Regions from separate parts of the Homo sapiens genome. Here all the other regions are linked to region 3. The links are contacts of gene promoters, found by promoter capture Hi-C in blood cells and fetal thymus (Javierre and others, 2016). All regions are on one chromosome and are shown on one strand. The core of a region is centred on a gene start or on the middle of the fragment in contact, and the rest is flanking DNA. Distances in the headings are between cores, read along the strand shown.

The links. Contacts are between HindIII fragments. The CHiCAGO score rates a contact against its expected background, and 5 or more counts as called.
Region 1: a contact is called between a fragment that was not itself captured here and the fragment with the promoter of SRSF1 in region 3, in 2 of 17 cell types (neutrophils and monocytes). The highest score is 9.9, in neutrophils.
Region 2: a contact is called between a fragment that was not itself captured here and the fragment with the promoter of SRSF1 in region 3, in 2 of 17 cell types (naive CD4 T cells and total CD8 T cells). The highest score is 5.1, in naive CD4 T cells.

The regions. Positions count from the first base shown.
Region 1 is chr17:57,831,199-57,835,325 of GRCh38, reverse strand. MRPS23 (mitochondrial ribosomal protein S23) reads left to right here. Exons shown (of 5, transcript NM_016070.4): 5 at 1-545. Among named protein-coding and RNA genes, the nearest start is that of MRPS23, 17 kb to the left of the region's middle. RefSeq lists enhancers at 883-1,383, 1,552-2,062, 2,063-2,574. The HindIII fragment of the contact is 6,404 bases long and covers 1-4,127 here.
Region 2 is chr17:58,171,260-58,174,931 of GRCh38, reverse strand. No RefSeq gene overlaps it. Among named protein-coding and RNA genes, the nearest start is that of OR4D2, 6.1 kb to the right of the region's middle. The HindIII fragment of the contact is 3,346 bases long and covers 343-3,672 here.
Region 3 is chr17:58,005,993-58,009,765 of GRCh38, reverse strand. SRSF1 (serine and arginine rich splicing factor 1) reads left to right here and starts at 2,520. Exons shown (of 4, transcript NM_006924.5): 1 at 2,520-2,822; 2 at 3,239-3,423. The coding sequence starts at 2,629. RefSeq lists enhancers at 2,169-2,218, 2,167-2,885, 3,009-3,058, 3,329-3,378, 3,710-3,773. The HindIII fragment of the contact is 5,045 bases long and covers 1-3,773 here.

The DNA.
Region 1 (4,127 bases), core at 181-2,680, 170 kb after region 3:
CTAACACCCAGTTGGTGACGTGGAACTGGTGCTCTCCTGGGAGAGAGCTTCAATTCTCAACCTACTAAGTTGAAGGTGATGGTGCTATATCTAAGTGGCAGACAGAGATAAGGGATAGGTGTCTACAGGGGCAAGATTTGGAGCCAGGAGAAGAAATGAGCTCTCCAAGGGTAGTGGGGAGAGATCTGGGATGTTGGGGGCTGGCAGGTAAATGCTTTAAGTGATAGAATAGGAGGAATGAGAAAGCCAGCAAAAGAAATTCACGTCCCATGTCTTCCATCATCTATATGTCTGACTTGTTTAAGTGGTCCTGGATTCACCAAATTTTATAGAGCTCTGCCTCTGCCTTTATTGGGTAGGCCTGATTTTTGATGATGTCCTTAAAAGGCTAGCCTGATTCTTCTTGTAGTTTTGTAGAACACTTTGTATCGAGAGTTCTCTGATAATGAAAGTGGTATTACAGAATAATCTGCCCCCGAAGGACTCCTGATTTTGTTAAAGTGATACCTTTCTCTGTAAATAAATGATGGCGTGCCACTTAAAAACCTTCAGCAGATTTCTTTTTTTAAACAAAGTCACTCAAGTGGGACAGTAAGATTTTCTCTGAGGCTGGCACTGGTGCCTGCCTCTGCTCCGGGGAATCCAGACGTGGCACCCGGAGTTGGGCCTCATCCATCCTCAGCTTTCATTTGTGACCAAGCCTGACTCAGAATGGGCTGGCAGTTTTCCTGAGTACATGGGAGTTAGGGCAGAGAACATGATGTGGTGCTGGTAGTCAACGCAAGCTGGCACGGCCTCAGCCAGAAGACTGGAGCTAGGAGCAAGCAAAGGTGAGTGGAGGAGGGGATGGGGAAGGCTGAGACTTCCTGGTCTCTATGTTCTGAGCTCAATTCTAGAATAGCCAAAAGGTGGGAGCCTGACTCGGGCTAAGTTAGTCATGCGTTCTGAGCCTTTGACCGTGCTGGGTGAGATGAGGGATGGCTGAGCAGGTTCAGTGAGCAACTTGGTCGAGGTCACCTTGGCTGGCAGAGGAAGGGCACCTGCCCTCCTGTGGAAAAGACGGGAAATGGCTTTCCTGTCACTCCTAGGGTAGCGCTCAATGTGGCAGGCGGGTCTCTGATTGGATGAGCCCGGCACTGAAGCAGTTTCTGTGGTGATGCTGAACCAGACAAGTGTTTATTGCTGCAGCACGAAAAAGAAAAGGTTGCTAGGGGAAGGCAGAGAAGGCAGGAAGTTAAGTGTTATGTTCCCTACAAAATGTTGCTACTGCCAGCCACCACCACCACCCTCCATCCATGCAGATTACAGACAGGGTTTTTGGGGAATACTAGCTGACAACGAAAATACATTTCAAGTATCATTTTACCCTCAATGAATGCTTTTCCTGGACTGCAACTGAAATAAATGTCAGTCACCGGACCTTCTAGCTCCTCAGTTCTTTTAATTAAAAGATAGTTCTAAGCAAGATCCAGTAGTGGTCTATTTATTATTTATCAAGCATTTTCCTTCCAGCAGTTAGTGAAAGGTCACTGGCTTCAACTGAGCTTTGTTTTTGGTGAGCAGCTTAGATGAAAAAGATATACAATCAATCTCTCCTGTTTGCTCATGGGCAGGACACTGTTTAATAGTCATTGTGGCATTTAGGATCGCAGGCCTCTGAAACATGCAGAAAAGTGCATGTGCATCCCTTGCTGCTGAACATTTCTCCAAAAGTAAACATCAGGTTGTGATTATGGTTAATAATGAGATATTGATTATTTGAAAATGTCACCGCCAGGGACTTGTCGGTTTCAGCACCACTAGATGGCGCTGGACTCTCATGCTGTTCAACTACAGTCATTTCGTTTCCTTGCCTCGGGGTACCTTGCCTTTCAAGGTTGAAGAGTGTCCTTGTAAAAATAATGTTGTGGCTGAAATTTAGGAAGCTGAGGTCCTGGGGTGCTACTGGGATGGGGTAGAGATGGGAGGGGACAGGCCACGGGACAAATGACAAAGGCCTGCCGGGGAAGCGGCACTGTTTGCACCATAATAGGAGCTGGAGAGGAAGGAGCTTACTGCGCTGAGCCCCTGGAGACTCTGCCCAGAGCAGTGTTTCCTAACCTTCTCCAGTCAATGACACATCTGCGAATTTGCTGTGGAGGACAGCGGGAGAGAGAACAGTGCAGGCAGGGAGGCAGAGCAGCGGAAAAAACCCAGGCCTTGGAGAACAGACCTGGGTTTGAAACCCTGATCTGTTGCTTTGTCTGGTGACATTAGGGGAGTTAGTGAACCGTCTGAACCTCAATTTCCTTATCTGTAAAACAAGGGTAACAACGTCTACCTCACTAAGTTGCTGTGAGGACTGAATGAGAACGTGAACAAAGTTCTTGGCGAGTACTCCGTCTTTGCTGTCAGTGCCTAGAAGGCTTTCAGCCACTGTCGATTCCCACTGGGTGGGGAGGAATTAACATGCGCTAGATTAACATTGAGAAGAAACGGTATTGTGTCCTCTTTCACCAGCCACTCGTCTAAACACAGCTTTCTCTATCCCCCACCCCCAGTAGTTACTCTGTCCTTTATCTCCTTCCAAACTTCTAGCACCAAGTAAATGAATCAAATTAAAAAACAACTACAACAACAACAACAAAGGAGGAAACTAGAGAACATCTTGGGAACTATCCGCTTTTGGAACTTATCCCATGCTGGTAGGTTTCACTGGAAAATGTGCATTTATTTAGTAACTTCTTGGATTGTGTATGCCTGTGGGCAAGCGTGTGTGTAGAAACCAACATTTTAAATGACACTCAATGACACTCATTCTGTTTCTTCTTTCCTGCTTCCTTTTTTTAAAAATAGGGACAAAGTCTCTCTCTGTCACTCAGGCTGGGGTGCAGTGGTGCAATCATAGCTCACTTCAGTCTCAACCTCCTGGGCTCAAGTGGTCCTCCTGCCTCAGCCTCCCAGGTAGCTAGGGCTACAGGTGCATGCCACTATGCCAAGCTAATTTTTTATTTTTAATTTTTTTGTAGAGATAGGGTCTCTATGCTATGTCGCTCAGGCTGGTCTCAAATTCCTGGCCTCAAGCGACTCTCCCGCCTTGGCCTCCCAAAGTGCTGGGATTATAGGCATGAGCCACCATGCCCGGCCCTTTTCTGCCTCCTTGCTGCCCCTCTACACTCCCCCCAACTGCCTTCCTTTCAGCACACTTTTCTGCTTTCTTTCTCCACCCTCTTTGCCCCAGATTATGGAGGAAAGCCAGAGGGTCACTACCTAGAGGCCCGGCCAGGGAAAATAGTTCCAACATCAGAGCCATTGTTTTGGGGACCTGGGGCTAGTCAGCAATTAGGAGTTTCTGAAACTCTTTCTGGAGCTTCTCCCTATGAAGGGCATGGGGAGGCAGTGGGTGCCAGGGCAGAAATGGTGGGCAGGGTGAGGATGAGGCCTAGAGGACCAGAAAGATCTATCCTTGACCTTCCTACCCTCCCACTTTATTTTACCCTGGTGGTCTGCCAGTGTATGGTGGGCCCCTCTGCCTTGAATTACCTGGGATGTGAGGCCAGAGGAGCACAGAGCTAAGGGTGCCACCCAGGTGGGTTACAGGGGAAGGGCTCTGACCTCTTTCCTCTCTAAGTCTCAGTCAAAAGGACTGGATTCAAATCCTGACGCTGGCACTCCTTTGTGGCCATGGCTTTAGAGAAATCACTTGACCATTTTGAGCCACATCCAGCCCCAGGAGAGAATCTGGAACCTAATAGATTTTTGGAAGTATATTTGTCAAGTGAACAAATGAATGATTTCCCTGTTTTTGACACGGGGAAAATAATATTAGCACCAAGTATGTTTTGGGGTGCAAAACCCGAATAAGATGCTGGCTATGCAGAACTTTGTAAACTCTCAAGCCTTCTACTGTTACGCGAAATAAAGATGCAGGAAAGAAGAACATGGCTGTGGGGCTGGTGGTGATGCTACTGGCCTTCAACCTGGAAGCAGTGTAGATTCCAAGACGATGGCCTCCGGAGAGGGAGTGTGGCAGGATGAGGGACAACTAGTGGAAAAGTTCAGCTTTCTAGTCTCTGCCTCCTAGAAAATTCTGCAGGAAATGCAGGATTGTTCTTCAAAGCCTCTCCTTTCCCAGGTGCTCAGTGGAA
Region 2 (3,672 bases), core at 766-3,265, 170 kb before region 3:
TGTTTCAAAAGGTGACTGAAACACAGTAGGAAAACTTTTAACTTATTGTTGTTCCACACTCCTCCCAGCTTGGTGGTCTTGAAGATGGCAATGTATGTTCCTGGTGTGAGTCCCTGGTTCCGGAAGGAGCAGAATGAACCTTGTTCCCTAGGATTGTATTGTCTGTTTTGAAATGTCTGGGGGTTCCTGAAGGACTGATGTGAGGAGCTTGCCTTTGTTTTACCTAACTCAGAATTCACTATGGGCAGAAAAGTGGCTACGTAAAAAGTATTCCTCAAAAACACTGAAAATCAAATGAGCACGCCTCTGCCACCTGGGGCAATCAAACACACACCAAAAGCTTGAGAGGAAAAGTTAGGAACAGAGATACTTTGGTGAATAAGAACTTTGGAAAGTTCCTGTATATACTATGAAATCTAGAATGCCACATTCTGCATATAAGGGCAGGATGAAAACACAGACTTGGGACAGTCCTAAGATATAAGTTCTGGCTAATCTTTAGGCCCAATGCAAGCAGAAAGTGAAGGCTAAGGCAGAGCTGTAAACATCCTTGTTAAGTGTTGAGGGAGTATCCAAACACAGAGCCAATCTGGAAAGACTGGGAGAGTATATTTTCTTTCTTTTTCATTTCTTTGTTGTATTAGTTCATTCTCATATTGCTATAAAGAAATATCTGAGACTAAGACTCGTAATTTATAAAGAAAAGAGGTTTAATTGGCTCATGATTGTGCAGGCTGTACAGGAAGCATAATGCTGGCATCTGTTTGGCTTCTGGGGAGGCCTCAGGAAACTTACAATAATGGTGGGAGGTGAAGTGGGAGCAGGCACTTCACATGGCTGGAGCAGGAGGAAGAGAGAGTAAGAGGGAGGCACCACACACTTTTAAATGACCAGATCTCATGAGAACTCACACACTATTGCAAGGTCAGTACCAAGGGAAGGATGGTGCTAAACTATTCGTGAGAAATTCATCCCCATGATCTAATCACCTCCCACCAGGCATCACCTCCAACACTGGGGATTATAATTCCACATGAGATTTCATGGGACACAGGTCCAAGCCATATCATTTGTCTACAGGCATTTAACAAAGTTACTGTAAAGCCATTAGATGACTATGAACTAAGGAAACAGATTTCAGAGGCCATATTTGACAAAAAAAAAAGTTTTAAAAGTCACTAAACAAACAACTGCAACTCACAGCAAGAAAAAACAACAAATAATAGGGAGCAGGAAGAAAATTATTTCCACTCCTACAACATTATAATATTTAAAATGTGCGGTTTTCACAAAATATTATGAGACATGCAAACAAACAAGAGAGTATGGCCCTTTCAAGGGAAGAAAAGAAATTAGCAGAAACTTCCTGAGAAAAAACAGACATTTGACTTAACTAGACAAAGACTTTAAAGCAACTTTCTTGAACATAGAGTAAACTATGGGTAAAGAATTAAAGGAAGAAGAATGTTTTACATAGAAAATATCAAAAAAGAGAGAGAAATTGATTTAAAATAAGAAATAGTCTGGAGCTGAAAAGTACAATAAAAGTAACTGAAATGAAAAGTTCACAGGACGGTTTCAATAGGAGCTTTCGAGTAGGTAGAAGAAAGAATCAGCTGGGCCTGGTGGCTTACACCTGTAATTCCAGCACCTTGGGAGGCCGAGGCGGGTTGATCACGAGGTCAGGAGTTCAAGACCAGCCTGGCCAACATGGTAAAACCCTGTCTCTACTAAATATACAAAAATTAGCTGGGTGTGGTGACACGCGCCTGTAGCCCCAGCTACTCAGGAGGCTGAGGCAGGAGAATTGCTTGAAACTGGAAGGCGGAGGTTGCAGTGAGCCAAGATCACACCATTGCACTCCAGTCTGGGCAACAGAGTGAGACTGTCTTAAAAAATAAAAATAAAATCAATGAATCTGAAGATAGGTTAGTTGAGTTCCAAGATTTCTGTTTGACATTTTGGAATCATTTCAGTCTCTTTGTTAAATTTCTAAATTGCTTTTCTGTGTTTTCTTGGAGATCAGTGAGTTTCCTTGAAACTCCTATTTTGAATTCTTGGTCAGAGAGCTCACTAATCACCATCTTGTTAGGATCAGTGACTGGATTTTTGCTTTTTCCTTTTGAGGAAGTCATAGTTCCCTGTTTGCTGTTGTTTCTTGTGGGTATGTATCCATCTTTCCAGTTTTCTCTGTACAGCTTGTTTTGGTTTTTATTGAATACATTTGCTTATTGAATCTTCACTGCTAGGTCACTGCCTCTATTCGACTCTAGGTGGTGCCTTAAGCCCAGGTTCACCTCAGGACTAGTAAATGGTTGAAGCACTTCCTGTCTCAAATCAAGGAGATCCCAAAGAGATTATCCTGGCAGTGTGGGAAGTCTGGCTAGGGGTTTGTGCCCAGGGGACCTGGGGAACATGCCTCCTACAGCATGGTGCTGCTGGACAGCAACTCTGAGTTGGTGTCTCCTTTGGCTGAGTTACAGAGCAGAATTTCTCTGCCTTTCTTCGGGGACATTTCTTCTTTCAGGCAGTCATGATGCTATCTGTGGATTAAGGCAAGAACAGTTCTCCTGCCAGGGACCCCAAGAAGGTAAGGAAGCTGGTGGGCCACCTCAATTTCAGTTTTTCCAGTGTAGAAACTGTAGTTGGGAGGAGATTTTTTGGCACTTGGTGCTGGACAGAATGGGGATGAGGGGTGTCCCAGATGTGGAAGTCTGATTCTCCTATCAGCTGCTTGGACTTTTTTCATCCCTCTGTGGCCCCAAGAACTGTCTCACTCTTATACTTGAGCTCTGGGTTGTTTCTGGTGTAGATCTCAGTGCTATATATTTGTTTTTGGTTCTGTGGAAGTCGGGGAGTGAATCCAATTTTCCTCTATGATGGCATTTCGGAATCAGAGGTCTAGAGATATTATAGGTCAATTGAAATCATCCAGTCTAAGGAGCAAAAAGAAGAATAAACGAAAATGAACATAGGCTCAGAAGCCTGTGAGACACCATCAAGGATACCAAGACACACACATAATGAGAATCCTGGAAGAAGAGGAGAGAAAGGCGCAGTAAAAATAGTTTAGGCAATAATGGTCACAACTCCAACATGGAGAAACCCCATCTCTACTGAAAATGCAAAACTTAGCTGGGTGTGGTGATGAGTGAACTCCGGCCTCGGCAGCAGAGTGAAACTTCGTCTCAAAAAAAGCACTCTCCAATAGCCAAAACCTGGAAACAACCCAAATAAACTTATTTTCACAGTGGAATATTCTACAGCAGAGCAAATGAATGAATTAGAGCCAAACATCAACATGTTATGTTAGAAACATAACATGGAGTGAAAAAAGCAAATCCCAGAATATTATGTACAGTACAATATCTTTATAAAACTCCAAAGTAGCAAAACAATATACTGTTTATGTAAAAAAAGTGATGAAACTATTTTATACAAGCAATGAAGTGATAAACATGAAATTCAACAGAGTGATTTCTTCTGGATAGGAATCAAGGTGAACACAATGGAGAGGACAATACAGGTGAAGGCAAGTTATTGGTAACTTCTGGTTCTTGAATCGAGTAGTGTATACATGAGCATTTATACATAATGACATAAGTTTCATAATGTGCATGCATTGCCCATGATCTTTTATTCAAAATTTGTATATTATATTAAAATGTAAAT
Region 3 (3,773 bases), core at 1,271-3,770:
AACACACATCTATATATATACTTAAAGGATGGTCTGAAGAATAGGCAATCTATCCTTCCCTTGACAAATTTCAGAAGTTCTTTTTCCTTTTGGGATCTATGGACTCCTTTAAGAAGTTGATTAAAATTCCAAATCCTCTTCCCAGAAAAAAGTACACACATGCATATAATTTTGTACATGCACACATGCATATAATTTTCGAAAATATTACAGAAAGCTCAAGGATTACCAAAGGTCATCTGTAGATATACCGAGGATCTACGGCCACAAGACCAAGCATCCCTGCTCATTTCAAATTGAATTTGTATTTTGGGGTCACCGAGAAACATTTGTAAAATATATTTCATCAGCTTTTAGAATTAAGAAAACATGTCCTTCTCCTGAATGACCTATTTACTTTTATCCCAAAGGCACTTTGGATTTTGAATACACAATACTTCTGTACCCTTCTTTACCGTGACTTCTGGGAAGACTAAAGTAAAATTTGCAATCTATCTCAACAAATTCAACGGGCTTTCACTGCAGGCATTTTGTATAGTAATTTATGCGTATTTCATTTAATCCACCCCTCATTTTCCCATTCCTCTGATTTCTTACTCTAGCATTTTTTTTGTGTGTGTGTGAGATGGAGTCTTGTTCTGTCACCCAGGCTGGAGTGCAGTGGCGTGATTTCCGCTCACTGCAGCCTCCACCTCCTAAGGGTTCAAGAGATTGTCCTGTCTCACCCTACCGAGTAGCTGGGATTACAGGCACGCGCCACCATACCCAGCTAATGTTTTGTATTTTTAGAAGATACGGGTTTCGACATGTTGGTCTCCGACTCCTGACCTCAGGTGATCCGCCCGCCTCGGCCTCCCAAAGTGCTGGGATTACAGGAGTGAGCCACCACGCCCAGCCTCATCTAGTTTTCATGTTTTATGGTATCTCTGTAAGTTGCCTCACATCCTTGCGGAAAGGGACTACTGTAAATAAATAACATGAAGAAAATTATCCCTTAAATTCAGTGTGTAGATCTGTTATGGCAAATTTATGACTGCAGGGTTTGATTTTAATTTGTTGTTGTTTCCCCCTCCTTTTTTTTTTTTTTGGAGGAGTCTCACTCTGTAGCCCAGGCTGCAGTGCAATGGCGCCATCTCAGCTCACTGCAACCTCCGCCTCCAGGGTTCTAGCGATTCTCCTGCCTCAGCCTCCCGCGTAGAGTGGATTACAGGCGCCTGCCACCAAGCCCGGCTAATTTTTTGTTTTTTCAGTAGAGACGGGATTTCACCATGTTGGCCAGGCTGGTCTCGAATTCCTGACCTCAAGTGATCCAACCGCCTCGGCCTCCCAAAGTGCTGGCGTGAGCCACCGCGCCCAGCCTGATTTGAATTTTAATTCATTAGCGACGTTTAAAAATCCCAGGATTTCACATAAAAATCCAGATTTCAGACGTCGAAAAAAAATGTAAAATGTTATCTCCCAATGCCGCAGGCAAACAGGATCACAGTCCTGAATAGCAACCGCGGTATCTAGTGGTTACGGTTCTCACATCCATTTTGCTCCATTTTATTACCTGAGAGGACCGGTATTTTCAAAACCTGGTGTATCAGTAACTTTTAGGGAAAACTTTTGAAAAAAGGACTGCACACACGCACCCTTTCTTCCTTCTCGTTCTTTGAAAGGAAACAACAGAAACGATTCATTCTGCAGGCATTCTGCGCTAGTCCCACGGACAGGCGACTAACAAGAGATAAAAAGGTGTGGGTCCCATAGGCGGTACGGTGTTACCCCTTCTGGTTGGCGGGTACCACGTTGCCGGTCGGGATACGGACCCACTGCGACTAGCACTAGGAGTGCTGACCCGAGCTATGCAAAGTTCTGACGAGAAGGCGGAACGGTACTTAATGAAGAGGATTAAGGAATCTAAATCGGTTTCGCTAAATTAGACACATCTGTCTAAGCAGCCACGGTCTATTCGCAGCAGGGGCGGGAAGACAAACCAACGCCCCAGCTCTCCGTTCAATCACCCGCAACTCAGCTCTGGATTAGACGCACCCTACGAAGATACCCGGGTTTCCGGAGCAACCGCCCGGGCCGTCCCCCTTTGGCCCCGCCTCCGAGACTCTTTCCCGCCAAAGGCCGTTATCGCCGCAGAGCATGGTGGGACAACGCTTTAGGCTAGGTTTCACCAAGTGCTTTGAAGGCGCCGAGTTGCTTTCAAAGATCCTCATTCCTGGAGAAATCGACCATCCTTCAAGACCCGACCTGGATGACTAGCTCCTTTAACGAAAGTTCGTTATTTAACTTTTACCAAACGGCTGGTCACTCTGTTCGCAAACCACCCCAAGCTGGGAACGCGGGGGACTTTTTTACCCCCTTCGTGGGGAGGGTGACGTCGCGCGTGCGTGCGCGTGCGCTGAACGTAGCCCTCGCAGCACCCGTTGCGCTCCCGCGCGTGCGTGTTGGGATCGAATCGCTGTTTCCTTCCGCTTCTCTTCCTCTGTCTCCCCCCCATATCCGTGCGCCGAGCTGATAAAGGCGCCATTTTGGAGGGGCCGCGGGAGACGTGGTGCCGCTGCGGGCTCGCTCTGCCGTGCGCTAGGCTTGGTGGGAAGGCCTGTTCTCGAGTCCGCGCTTTTCGTCACCGCCATGTCGGGAGGTGGTGTGATTCGTGGCCCCGCAGGGAACAACGATTGCCGCATCTACGTGGGTAACTTACCTCCAGACATCCGAACCAAGGACATTGAGGACGTGTTCTACAAATACGGCGCTATCCGCGACATCGACCTCAAGAATCGCCGCGGGGGACCGCCCTTCGCCTTCGTTGAGTTCGAGGACCCGCGGTGAGGCGGCATGGGGCTTGCAGCCTTGAGGAAATAGGTCCGAGTAGTTGGGGAAGGCTCCAAGGCCTTAACATAGAGAACGGGGAAGCGGGGGCTCTTAGAGAGGTTGGGGCGAGACTGTATCGCCCATGCAGGAGTCGAGTAAGGAGCTGAGTTGATGTGGCTTCTCTGGCGCCTCGCCTTGGACGTCCCCGGAGCCCATTCGCAGGCTGGAGCGGGAAACTGAGGCGCTGAGGGCTGGTGTAGTGGTTGGGAGCCTGGCGTGTTTCTGGGTGGGGGAGGGGCCATTCCTATTATGCGGCGCATGTGGGCTCTTCCACGTTGGGTGCGCATGTGCGGGGGGTTTGCTGGTTCCCAACTGAGCGAGCTTCTCCTCCTGGTGTTTCTCATCCCTTTTACTTTCTGCGATCCCGCAGAGACGCGGAAGACGCGGTGTATGGTCGCGACGGCTATGATTACGATGGGTACCGTCTGCGGGTGGAGTTTCCTCGAAGCGGCCGTGGAACAGGCCGAGGCGGCGGCGGGGGTGGAGGTGGCGGAGCTCCCCGAGGTCGCTATGGCCCCCCATCCAGGCGGTCTGAAAACAGAGTGGTTGTCTCTGGTGAGTGTACTGGTTGTGTGGATTGATGTGAAGGGACGAAAACTACCTAAAATTTTTCTCTTGCGTGACAGGTTTAATAATTGCAAATTTTTCATGCTAGGTCTTAAATTGCTTTAGTTTTTGGGTGAATTTAATAAACGAGGATTGCTGCTGTGGTGATTTACCAAATTAGGTTGCGGTACTAGATACGAAGATCGTTACAAATAATTTTGGACTCTGGATTCCAGAATCTTACCAGCTCTCTTTACCTGGTATCACTTAAGTACACCTATTAAGTACTTTAAAGTACTCTTTGTCCTAATGTACCTTACCAGCTTAACGTGAAATTTAAGATAATTGGTACTAAGAAA